Linked DNA regions of Homo sapiens: regions 1 and 2 are each linked to region 3. The links are contacts of gene promoters, found by promoter capture Hi-C in blood cells and fetal thymus (Javierre and others, 2016). All regions are on one chromosome and are shown on one strand. Each heading gives the region's core, a stretch centred on a gene start or on the middle of the fragment in contact. The rest is flanking DNA. Distances are from core to core; before and after follow the strand shown. Region 1 holds the start of CYP27B1 (cytochrome P450 family 27 subfamily B member 1). Region 2 holds the start of CTDSP2-AS1 (CTDSP2 antisense RNA 1). Region 3 overlaps NEMP1 (nuclear envelope integral membrane protein 1).

What was found. Contacts are between HindIII fragments. The CHiCAGO score rates a contact against its expected background, and 5 or more counts as called.
Region 1: a contact is called between the fragment with the promoter of CYP27B1 here and a fragment that was not itself captured in region 3, in 1 of 17 cell types (neutrophils). The highest score is 6.1, in neutrophils.
Region 2: a contact is called between the fragment with the promoter of CTDSP2-AS1 here and a fragment that was not itself captured in region 3, in 1 of 17 cell types (neutrophils). The highest score is 5.0, in neutrophils.

Annotation. Positions count from the first base shown.
Region 1 is chr12:57,765,662-57,769,565 of GRCh38, forward strand. CYP27B1 (cytochrome P450 family 27 subfamily B member 1) reads right to left here and starts at 1,417. Exons shown (of 9, transcript NM_000785.4): 1 at 1,186-1,417; 2 at 346-536. The coding sequence starts at 1,380. It overlaps METTL1 (methyltransferase 1, tRNA methylguanosine), which reads right to left. Exons shown (of 6, transcript NM_005371.6): 4 at 3,904; 5 at 3,642-3,743; 6 at 2,810-3,490. The coding sequence ends at 3,335. The HindIII fragment of the contact is 11,205 bases long and covers 1-2,300 here.
Region 2 is chr12:57,835,536-57,839,388 of GRCh38, forward strand. It overlaps CTDSP2-AS1 (CTDSP2 antisense RNA 1), which reads left to right and starts at 1,556. Exons shown (of 2, transcript NR_188077.1): 1 at 1,556-1,679. The region is part of intron 1 of CTDSP2 (CTD small phosphatase 2); the gene reads right to left. RefSeq lists enhancers at 1,786-1,855, 2,445-3,065, 2,646-2,755, 2,816-2,895. The HindIII fragment of the contact is 9,495 bases long and covers 1-3,319 here.
Region 3 is chr12:57,062,779-57,066,986 of GRCh38, forward strand. NEMP1 (nuclear envelope integral membrane protein 1) reads right to left here. Exons shown (of 9, transcript NM_001130963.2): 5 at 1,868-1,961; 6 at 1,293-1,407; 7 at 341-566. Among named protein-coding and RNA genes, the nearest start is that of NEMP1, 14 kb to the right of the region's middle. The HindIII fragment of the contact is 9,125 bases long and covers 1-4,208 here.

The DNA.
Region 1 (3,904 bases), core at 167-2,666, 700 kb after region 3:
CTTCCTCTTTACTCATTTCCTGCCCTCAGGGGCCGGGGTTCCCGGGTAACTTGAGTCACAGAACCTTACATTCATTCCATCCAGATCCTTGTACCCTAGCCCAATTCCTCCGGTTCCCCCAGTTCCCAGGATTCGGGCCTCAAAGGATAAGGAGGTAGGCGGGGAGTGAGGTTGGGGCTCAACCTGAGTGTGGGTGAAGCAGACTGGGATGGGAACCCCAAGATGCCCAATGGTAGAGTGGGACAGCCGACCTCCCACCATGCCCCCAGATTGATAGTTTCGGGACCCGCAGCAGGAGAGGGCCGCTGCAGGGCGTCTGGGCTTCTGGGGGCAGAGAAGACTCACGCAGTGAGCAGTCCGCAAGCCCGCTGGCGGCAGCGGCGGTGCTCCGTCCAGGGCGAGAAGCTGCAGCGCTCGGGCCGGGGTCCCTCCTGTCGCAGCAGCTCCTCGACGAGTGCAGGGGCAGCCACGTACACGGTGCGCACTGTCCCAAAGCTGGCTAGCCACACCGGCCCGAAGTGCGCGGCGCCCTGCACCTGGGGGAGCGGACACAGCGGACACTTGGATACCTGGGCGGGGACTTTCAGCTTGACCTGTGCCCACGCCAAGGGCGTTGACTGGGCTTGGGAATAGGGAGCTTCTGCTCTTTCTCGGGTGCCCAACTAGTGTATGCCTTTGATACTGCAAACTCCTCCTCTCTCATTTCCCATCCCTAGAAAGTTTGAGTGTGATGGGCAAAACCGGAACTTTGTGCAAGGCAGACATTCAGGACCTCTCTGATCATCTCGGTCGAGGAGAAATCTCTAAAAGTTCCATGTCTGGACTGTCCATCTCAGGACGAGTCCTCAGTGAATGAAAAGGAACCCATGTAGCTTTAAGCCGCAAGCAGGCGGAGGGTACTGCCCACTCCGGCCTCCCCCTCCCGCGCACTTGTACTTTATCTGCAGGATCTCCACACCTCAGGACAGCGAGAAGGCGCTTTCGCAGCGCCCTCTGCTAAGAGTCGGGACGGGCTCTGCCCGAGTGTAGCCACACCGCCCCCAGCCTCAACTCGCCTTTTCCTTATTTCATGGGCATCCGTTCTCTCTGGCTGTCCCACATTTGCTCTGCACTAGTCAGTCCTTTCTGACGCTGTCAAAACCAGTTTCCCCAGCACTCTGTCTCGGGAAAGGCGTCCCTTCCTACCTGCAGCTCGTGTAGCCTCGACAGCCCCCCCTTGCAGAAAAGTTCGGCCAGAAAGCTGGGCGTAGAGGGGCCTGGGATGTCTGCCAAGCTCCGGCGTGCTGAGTGGTACTCTCGGTAGCCTAGGGAGGCGCCCAACTCGGGCGCCCAGCGGACGCGATGGAACACTCTGGAGGCGTACTTGAGGGTCTGGGTCATGGTCTGGTTCAGGGTGCTCGCGAAAGAAAGCGCTTCTCCTGAGCATCATATCTCAACCCCTATTTAACCTTTGGGTGAGGTGATGACGCCCCCTCTCCAAGCTCCTCAGCCAATCCCTCCTCCTGAGTGGTCTGTGCTGGGGATTAGCACCCAGGAACAGTAGGCGGGGCTGGGGCTGACTTCACAACTCCCTTGGGTCTCATGTTGCAATGACCCTCATGGGAGGGAGGGCCTAAGATTTTCCTCCTGGGAGAGTGCCTTTGTCTAGGAGCCTCAAAGTCTCATCCTAGGAAAGGCTATAAGGCTTTTTAGTAGGGACTAGGTGACCAAGCTACACTAGTCAGTCTCTGATATTCCCACTTCTACCAGTGAGCCCAGCCCCTTTAGGCCCATCCTCAGGAATTCCCCATCTTTCAGCTCCTCCAGGAAGGGAAGCAGGGGAGGCACAGCTGTAACTGTCCCCACATTCTTGGCTTAGTGGGTTGTATCTTCTCTGCATTATTTTCCTGCACTAGCCACACCTCCCCCTCCTCCTGTACCTAACATATACTGGGCAGATGGCAGGTGGGTTAATGGGCTAAAATGGCTCCTAGAACCTCCATCTTTCTTTCTTGAGGATAAGGGGGTCTCTTGGGTATACAAGCCCCCTCCTTCCAGACATGGGAATTTGGGGCTTGAGAAGCAGAAATGAAACTTTTTGTACATTAGTTAAGTTCAGAGATTGTCTGTGGGGTGTTAGAGGAGCTAAATGGATGTGGATGTTCTAATTCCCCAGCTGACTCGGTCTCCTCTGGGGGGCTTTCTGGTTAGCAGCTCCTTTCTACTTTTAGCCTCAGAATCCTGTGGTGGCTCATGCCTATAATCCCAGCACTTTGGGAGGCTGAGGCAGGAGGATGGCATGAGGCCAGGAGGTTGAGACAAGCTTGAGCAACATAGCAAGACTGTCTCTACAGAAGAAGTTTAAAAATTAGGCTGGGCACGGCAGCTCATGACTGTAATCCCAACACTTTGGGAGGCTAAGGTGGGCAGACTGCTTGAGCTCAGGAGTCTGAGACCAGCCTGGGCAACATAGTGGAACTGTCTCTACAAAAAATACAAAAATTAGCCAGGCATGGTGGCGTATGCCTGTAGTGCCTTGAGAGGCTGAGGTGGATTACATGAGCCCGGGAGGTCAAGGCTGCAGTGAGTTATGATTGTACCACTGCACTCCAGCCTAGGCAACAGAGAGAGGGCCTGTCTCTAAAAAAAATTAAAATAAAAGAATCTCCCACAGTTTACCTCTCTGCTCCTTACTCCCTCATTCCCCACTGCAACTCTATCAGGCTCTGTGCCAGTCAGCTAGCTCTGAAGTTCTGGAATTGAAGGTCAATGTGAAAAAGGAGAGGGTCTCCACCCCCACACCTTCCCAAGGACTCTCCAGAGACAACACTTAGGGAACACAGATTCCCCAGGTCAAGTCTTACGCAGGGAGAGGACAGGAGGATGGTAGAAGGCATATGATACATACTCCACCCTTTCCTGAGAAATGGCAGAATAGGCATGTGTACACATATACATGTTATCCCAGGATCCACAAAGCAAACAGAAGTGGTAATTGAGCCTAGCAAGCAGTTTAGATGGACTACATTCCTCATTCCAGCTGAGGAGAGATCTCACAAGGAGAAAGGAGTGCTAAGGAAGAGCAAGACCCCACAGCCTTCCAAAGATCCCCTATGGTCCAAAGTCCTTTGACCATCTCAGTCAGCTGCTTTGTTTTCTGTTGGCAGTGGAGGGACAAGGTGAGAGGAGCCAGGGGTAGTCATGAACACCAGTGGGTTCTGCCCTGGGCAGCTCCCCACCTTCTTTAAGAGAGTACTGTGTCTCAGCTCCAGCAGTCTCAACTGGGAAGACCCAGGACTCCTGCTCTTTTCTCTAATCCCTGGGAGACGAGGTCCAGCTAAGGTAGAGTAAGCAGTCAGTGACCAGGCAGGCTGGTTTGGGAGGTCACTGCCTGGAGGACGGGATCTTGTATTCTTCGGAAGATGGCTGGGAAATTCTTCCCTCCATTACGTAGAACTTTCTTCCCCTCCTCAGTTGAGGTGCCTAGATGTCCCACAACGGGGTCTTCACTCTGGGAGAAGGAAGGGTCCAATAAGTCCTTGCCCACTGTTCAGACTGCCCCTGGCCCTTAGACACCTATCCCATCCTCCTGGCACTGAGTTAAGTCCAAATACAGAACCACTCTGGAAAGGGCCTCCACCTCCTCTAGGTCCCCTACTCACCAGGTCCTCCAGAGGCACACGCTCAAACAGTGGGTGCTCTTCGAAATGAGTGCACATCCAGTCGTGTAGCTCCAGCACATCGGTTATGGTATACACCAGCCCCTGCATAGGCAAAATCACCCTAGACAGGAGGCTGCATGCAACGTCAGCAGCCAGATGAAGGAAGTGGTGGTGTGAGTCCCTAAATGCACCCCCACTGAATTCTTAGTGAAGGGCCCCTGAGTAGGCCACTCACCCCATCATCCCTCCGATCCCAACTCACC
Region 2 (3,853 bases), core at 306-2,805, 770 kb after region 3:
AGCTGCTCTCCCTCCTTCATTCCCTGCTACCCTCTGCGGACACCCAGCCCTCCTCTTCTGCCCAGATGCAGATGTGCTTCTGCTTTCTCTGCCCCAAACATTTGGTTTGGGGCTAGATGTCTGAGAGGACTAGCACAGACCCAATGAGGGAAGCAGCTCTGGCTTAAGAAGAAAGTGAGCTGGTGGCTGAAGACAGGGAAACCAGGCCAGCCATCCAGCTCACTGCTGCGAGTCTTCCTACTGAGGCGGGGTGTGAGGAGAAGAGGGGATGTGAGGAGTATGCCCCCACTGAGGATCATCAGGGCTGGGGTCCAGGCTCTGCCAGTTACTGACTCAGCCACACAGCCTTTTGGAGCCTTAGTTTCCTCATCCATAAACTGGGATAACAGCAAGCCCTCACTCAGGACTGAAAGGATAAACGAAGTTAGAGAGTAAGGCACTGTGCTAACTCTAAAGCTAAATGCTGCGCTTGTTTTAATTAATTATCCAAGGGGAGATGACCACTAAATGGCAACATCATGGGCCTCATTCCAGGAGGCCAGCAACAGACCAGGAGCCCTCCCACCATCATCACGTGGATGAAGCCCAAGAAGATGAGGGAAAGGTGCCTGAGAGCTCTGATCATGAGCAGGTTTCAGAAAGTCAAAATAGCCCCTATACCTTCTCCCAAGTCCACAACAAAATTTGTTTTCCAGCTCACAAACTCCCTGACTGGGTATTCTGTGAAAAACAAAAGCAAGTAAGACTGTTTCACTTGAGACAAAAATCGCTGTCTCCCCTGGTATTCATCCCCACTACTCTCAAGAAGTACCAGGTAAGGACACTATTTGCCCCTATGCATGGGCCGGGGTAGGTGGCTCAAGCCTGTAATCCCAGCACTTTGGGAAGCTGGGCCGGTTGGATCACTGCAGCTCAGGAGTTCAAGACCAGCCTGAGCAACATGGCAAAATCCTGTTCTACCAAAAAAAAATTAGCCAGGTGCACCTGCAGTCCCAGCTTGGCAGGCTGAAGTGGGAGAATCACCGGAGCCCAGGAGTTTGAGGCTGCGGTAAGCCGTGATTGCACCACTGCACTCCAGCCTGGGTGACAGAGTGAGATTTTGTCTTTAAAAAAAAAAAGTGTACATGTACAAACACGTGAACACGTGCACACATACACACAAACGAAGACCAGAGTGACCAGGGCAACACTGTTTTTAATCTTCTCCTGAAAGTCAGGTCCAGATACCACTTTTGTCAACAACACAGCTTTGTGTCCCAGCAAAGGAACTCCTCACACATCTGCCTGCGATTCAGCAGAAGGTAACCTCTGAGACAATCAGATTTTAACAAGCCCATTCAGGTAGAAAGTTGCTTTCTTTTTTGGTTCATCCCCAGAAGTACTTCCTTCCCCACCACCTCCCATCCCCCACAGCAAAGGACTTAGCCTTAGCCTGGCTATCACTATAAAATGGCCCCTCTGAGGGGCCTCCTTCCTCTCAGCTATTGGAGGAAGGAGAGTATTTGGAGCATTTCCGGCCCTTCTTGGACGGCTGCCTGAACCCTGCAGCCAAGACACATTTGACTGGGACTCCCCCATGGAGAGAAGTCCTCCCAGGTCCTCTGCAAGGGGCATCTGTTCCTTGGCTATGGACATGCCCTAAAGTGCCAGGTGGACGGAAGAGCTCCTGGGACCAGCAGGTGAGTCGGCAGGGAACAAAAGAGGGTGAGATGCCTAGACAGCCCCCACACACAAAAGACTGCAAACAATGGGGAGGGTGTACTGCTTTCATGCCTGGCCACTGACACTGTTCTCTACAGCTAACAAGCAAGGCAGGGCCGGACCCAGCTTAGCACCGGCTCCCGAAGTTCCAAAAAGTAGCTGTGTATCTAACTGCATGGGCATTTTTTGAAAAAAGCAGTTTTAACACTTTGGGGGGCAAAGGCAGTGGGGATCACTTAAGGTCAGAAGTTCGAGACCAGCATGACCAATATGGTGAAACCCCATCTTTACTAAAAATGCAAAAATTAGCAGGGTATGGTAGTGAGCTCCTGTAATCCCAGCTACTCCGGAGGCTGAGGCACGAGAATCACTTGAATCCAAGAGGTGGAGGTTGCAGTGAGCCGAGATCACACCATTGCACTCCAGCCTGGGGGACAGAGCAAAACTCTGTCTCAAAATAAATAAATAAATAAATAAAATTTAAAAAATTAAAAAGCAGTTTTAGCCATGCTGTTTGGCCCATACCAGCATGTTGTATGCTGGTGCCCTCTCTGCACCAGCAACTGGGGCAGCTCTACCTAAGCCAGTGTCTCCATTAGTTCCCTTTCCCTGGGCAGGAGAGCTCCCTATATGGCTGTCTCTTCTTTCAGACCTGAGTCCTTAATGCCACCTGTGGGGCGAGGGTCACAGGTCACACACTTTCTTGTCTCTGCCCCTTCAGCAATCTGTTCTCTGACCTCAGCTAGAGAGGTAAGAGGACTCAGTTTTGGGAGCAGGGGATTTCTGGCAGTTCTAAAGCACGCTGATTTCAGAATCAGCCTCTAAAGGAGGTATTGCCAAAACACCCTCCTGGGCAGCTCCAACGTACTTTAAAAACGTGCTGGGTTGGGGTGGGCCTCCATAAGTAGCAGATCCTGGACCAGAGACAGAGGAGGCGTTTCCTCATAGACAAGTCAGCTGCAGGCTCAGCCCTGCAAGCCCCACTCCAGAGGACTCTTGAGGGATGTCAGGAAGTGATCTAATAGCCCACAGGGCAGCAGGGACAAGCCTGAGATGCCATCCAAGAAAACTCAAAGGACTGGATCCTGCCCCTGCCTCAGCAGGAGACCCTGCCCTATGTAGCACCAGCCAGAGCAAAGGTATCATTGTGAGGGATTGGAAACCACACTTGCCTACCTGGAGTTACCCCTCCTTCCCCCTAAGGAGGTGTATAACAAGCCCCTGTGGGAGGGGCTACACACAGACAACCTCTCAGTGAGTGTTTCAAGTTCCTGCCTTAGTGCTGTGCCCTTGACTCCTGGAATGCTTAGATATAGTTGAAGCCTAGGAAGAATCCACTGCTTCTTTCCCTTCCAGGTATGTAGGCCTGCTTTAGGTTGATACAAACGTGAGCTGGAGAAAGCAGTGAGGACACAGGACAAAGCAAGGGTATCTGTTCTGACCAGGGAAAAATACAGTGGTGACACAAGGCACCCAGACTTGAGTTCGAATCTAGGCTCTGCCATGTGTAAGGTATGCAGCCATGGGCCTCAGTTTCTTCATCTGCAAAATGGGAAGACTACCTATTTCTCAGTGTCAGAATTGCAGGGAGCTCAGGGAGTGTCCTGGTCCTAACAAAAGCTTTGTAAGTGTCAACTGCTACTCATTAAGTGCAAAGTACTTTCATACTCTTACCTCAGTCTCCATCTCAAAATGTTCACATTAAAGGGACCATAGAGATTTCTTCTAACTCATTTCAGAGGTAGTAACAGGGCCAAACCGGAAATGATGTTTTCCGGGACTCCACAAAAACGAATCAGTCGCACACACACATACACACTCATTGAGGCTGGCCAACCAGTTCCTCCTTCATATGGCTGGCCTCTGCAGAAGGAATGGAAGGAGTCTGCCAGGGAGGCACCCATCTCCAGGGACATTCTGCTGCTCCCCCCACACCCCTCAGCTTCACCTATGACCAGCCAAGCCGTATAGGTGAGTCCACTTGAGAAAGTACTGATCTAGAAGTCAGGAAACCCAGCTCTTGCTCCAGTTCAGCTTTTCAACAGTTCCGTGGCCTTGCTAGGGCACAATTCTCTGGGGTTCAGTTTCCTCATAAGCCAATCTGGAAAGGTTTCCCCTGCATGGTCCCTTAAAAGGTGGCTTCACCTGAAGC
Region 3 (4,208 bases), core at 967-3,466:
GGTTGCAGTGAGCCGAGATCACGCCACTGCACTCCAGCCTGGGCGACAGAGCGAGACTCCATCTCAAAAAAACAGTGATAGAATTTGCACCACCTTGTGGTAACAGGAACACATGACATTTTACTAGACATTTTATATAAAATGACTAGAATAAAAATATAAAAATTCCTATAGAAAGTAAAAAAAAAAAAATAGACTCGGGAAGGAACAAAAGTGGAAGTACAATACAATGACTTTTCATTAACAAAGAAGCTCCCAGGTCAACACCTCTGTATCCTCTTGCTGCAACTGCATCCCACAATGTACCTGTCAATATTAAGTTACATTGCCTTTCAGTCACCTGCAGGTGATGTACAGCCACTGAATAGGGTGTTCCAGGTTCTTAGTACAAAGAGCAATGATGATAATGGCAAGGGCAATATGTGGTATCTGGATGCCAGAATACATGAAACACAGGCCCATCAGCTGCAAGGTCCAGGTCAGCAGGTTGATACTTCGTTCATTCTCCAAGGGCCCATACTTGTAACATACTGCAAAACTCATGAATCCAACTGTGAGGACATAACCTATGAGAAGAGTTATCAGAAGACATTCTTTTTCATCTATACTTGGTAAAAATAATTTGTGTGGGAAGCAGTAGTTAATTTACTATATAGCACCAATTGAACTAGGAAATCAGATTTTTACTTAATTTTTCACACTTTTTTCTTAGAATATATTTCTCTAAGTTTCTATCCTTTCTGCTGTCCCAAATTTATTTGGTTCAAACAGAACATTAAAGGTACATGTTGAACAACCCTGAAATAGACTATTTTAAAAAACCAATATACAGAAATCCAGATTAATCACCCTTCAAAGGATAACTCAAAGGTTACTATCTATATGACCAAGGATTTTTACTTTGTAAATAAAATCTACAGCAGTTCATTCAGAAATGAAGGAGAAAAAAATTAACTGCGGAGTCTTTTACTTAAGGTCCCCAAGTATATTTAAAATATGATTCCATTAATAAAGTCAACTTACAGCTTTTCAGAAAGATGTTTATTGTGTAAAGAAAGGTATATTTATAAATACCAATAAATGAACATCTTCGCCTTAACAGCACCATTCTAATTTAAGAGAAGGTGATAATTGTAGAGGGATTAGAAATAAGTGAAAAACTATGATTTTTAAAAGTTTAAAAAAATGACATGAACTATTAAATCCCATAAGCAGGCAAAATCTTTTCATGATCAAATTAACTGAAACAGCCTATAAACGTACAAAAGGAAAGCAAAACCGACAACACTTACTTAAAAGATACTGCCAGTAACACCTCCAGATCTCTTGTAAATTTTTAAAAACTAGTTGAATGAGGTACAGAGAAAAAGACCAGCCTCCCACCAGGATGACGTAAATGGGACTTTTCTAAGACAGAGAGTAGAAGTGAAAGCAAAAAGTTACAACAGGCTTTCCATACATAAAAGAAGCAAAATGGAACTATGATTTTTTTTTTAAAAAATTCAACCTACTCAAAATGCACAAAAAACACTTCTCTTAAAAAGATGTCCTTTATACTTAAAATGGTACAGTCTGCAACGAACACTGGGAAGATGAAATGCTAAATAACTTAAAAGCCTGGCTATATAATTAAAAAACAGGAAGCAGACTTTAATCCCCCTCTGAGCACAGGATTTTATATAAAAAGAAAGAATTTGTAATCAGGCTCCAAGTTTCATCGTGGAAAGTACCTTTCTGAATCAAGGAGAGTAGGATATTGACTCATCAGCCATCAATACACATTTTCAGTTTTCTAAGATTACCCAGGAAAACAGTCCTTCAGCTATCCAAATTCATTCTAGCTGCACATGAAGATTCTGATACTTACCTTAGGCATAAACTTAGATAGTATAAAAATGATGATTAGCAGAGAGGCCACAATTCCCACAGTCATCCCAGTAGAGTAGTAGAAAATTTGACTTCTGCAGGAAAAAAATGTATTTCATGACCATATGTATATATTTCATACATAGCACTGTTGAAACTAGGACAACTAACCCAGCCGAAAGATTTTAAAAGGTACAAGATTAGAGCAGTACAAGCATCAGAGACATTTCAAATTTGGTTCCAGACCACTGCAATAAACCAAATATTGCAATTGCAGTAAGTAAGTCACACAAATTTTTTGGTTTCCCACTGCATATAAAAATTGTTTACACTATATTATAGTATATTAAGTGTACAACAGCATTATGTCTTAAAAATATATATTCCTTAATTAAAAATACTTTGCTAAAACCTGCTAAAGATCATCTACGCCTTCAGTGAGTCATCATTTTTTTTGCTGGTGGAGGGTCTCACTTCCATGTTGATGGCTGTTGACTGATGAAGGCAGTGGTTTCTGAAGGCTGGAGTGGCTGTGGCAATTTCTTAAAATATAATGAAGTTTGCTGCATTGACTCATCCTTTCAATGAAGATTTCTCTAAAGCATGCAATACTGTCTGATAGCATTTTACCACAACTTCTTTCAAAACTGGAGTCAATCCTCCAACAGCATTAACCCTTAACAAGAGGATCACCCCTCCTTTGAAGCTAGGCACTGACTTCTCTCTCGCTATCAAAGTCCTCAATGGCATCTTCTTCTAGTATAAGGCTATTTTGTCTACACTGAGGAGCTCTTTAATTGTAGCCACTTTCAACAATGATGTTAGCTAGATCTTCTGAATAACTTGCTACAGCTTCTATATCAGTGCTTGGTTCATCTTTTTTTTTTTTTTTTTTGAGACAAAGTCTCACTCTGTTGCCCAAGCTGGGGTGCGATGGCGTCATCATGGCTCACTGCAGCCTTGATCTACTGGGCCCAGGTGATTCTCCCACCTCAGCCTCCCGAGTAGCTGGTACCATGACTTTTTTGTATTTTTTGTAAAGGCAGGGTTTCACCATGTTGCTCAGGCTGGTCTCGAACTCCCTGGGCTCAAGTGATCTGCCCGCCTCAGCCTCCCAAAGTGCTGGGACTACAGGCCTGAGCCACCACGCCTAGCCTACCTTGCACTTATGTAATAAGACAGCTTCTTTCCTTAAATCTCATGAACCAAGAACCTTCACTAGCTGTAAACTTTTCTTCTGAGGCTTCCTCACCTCTCACCCTTCACAGAATTGAAGACAGTTAGGGTCTTGCTCTGGATCAGCCTTTAGCTTTAAAAAAGTTGTATCTGGCCGGGCATGGTGGCTCAAGCCTGTAATCCCAGCACTTTGGGAGGCTGAGATGGGAGGATCACGAGGTCCGGAGATCGAGACCATCCTGGTTAACACGGTGAAACCCTGTCTCTACTAAAAATACAAAAAAATTAGCTGGGTGTGGTGGCAGGCGCCTATAGTCCCAGCTACTAGGGAGGCTGAGGCAGGAGAATGGCATGAACCTGGGAGGCGGAGCTTGCAGTGAGCCGAGATCACGCCACTGCACTCCAGCCTGGGCAAGAGAGCAAGACTCTGTCTCAAAAAAACAAACAAACAAACAAAAAAAGAGTTGTATCTGGTTTAATCTTCTCAACAGCCAACTAAAACTCTCTCCATATCAGCAATAAGGCTGTTTCACTTTCTTATCACTTGTGTGTTCCCTGGAGTAGCACTTTTAATTTCCTTCAAGAACTTTCCCTTTGCACTCACAACTTGGCTAACTGCTCAGGACAAGAGGTCTAGCTTTCGGTCTGTCTTGGCTTTTGCTGTTCTCACTAAGCATAATCAGAGAGATGTATGACTCTTCCTTTCAGTTGAAGACTCACAATCTACTCTAGGGTTATTAATTGGCCTAGTTTCAATATTGCTGTTTCTCAGGGAATAGGGAGGCCCAAGAAGAAGGGAGACGGGAATAACCAATTGGTTGAGTTGTTAGAACACCCATGACATTTATCGATGAAGTTCACTGTCTAATATGGTTTGGCTGTGTCCCCACCCAAATCTCATCTTGAATTGTAGCTCCCATCATTCCCACGTGTTGTAGGAGGGAACTGGTGGGAGATAATTGAATCATGGGGGCAGTTGCCCTCATACTGTTCTCATGGTAGTGAATAAGTCTCATGAGATCTGATGGTTTTATAAGGGGTTTCCACTTTCACTTGGTTCTCATTCTCTCTTGCCTGCTGCCATGTAAGATGTGCCTTTTGCATTCTGCCATGATTATGAGGCCTCCCCAGCCACCAGGAACTGTGAGTCCATTAAACTTCTTTTT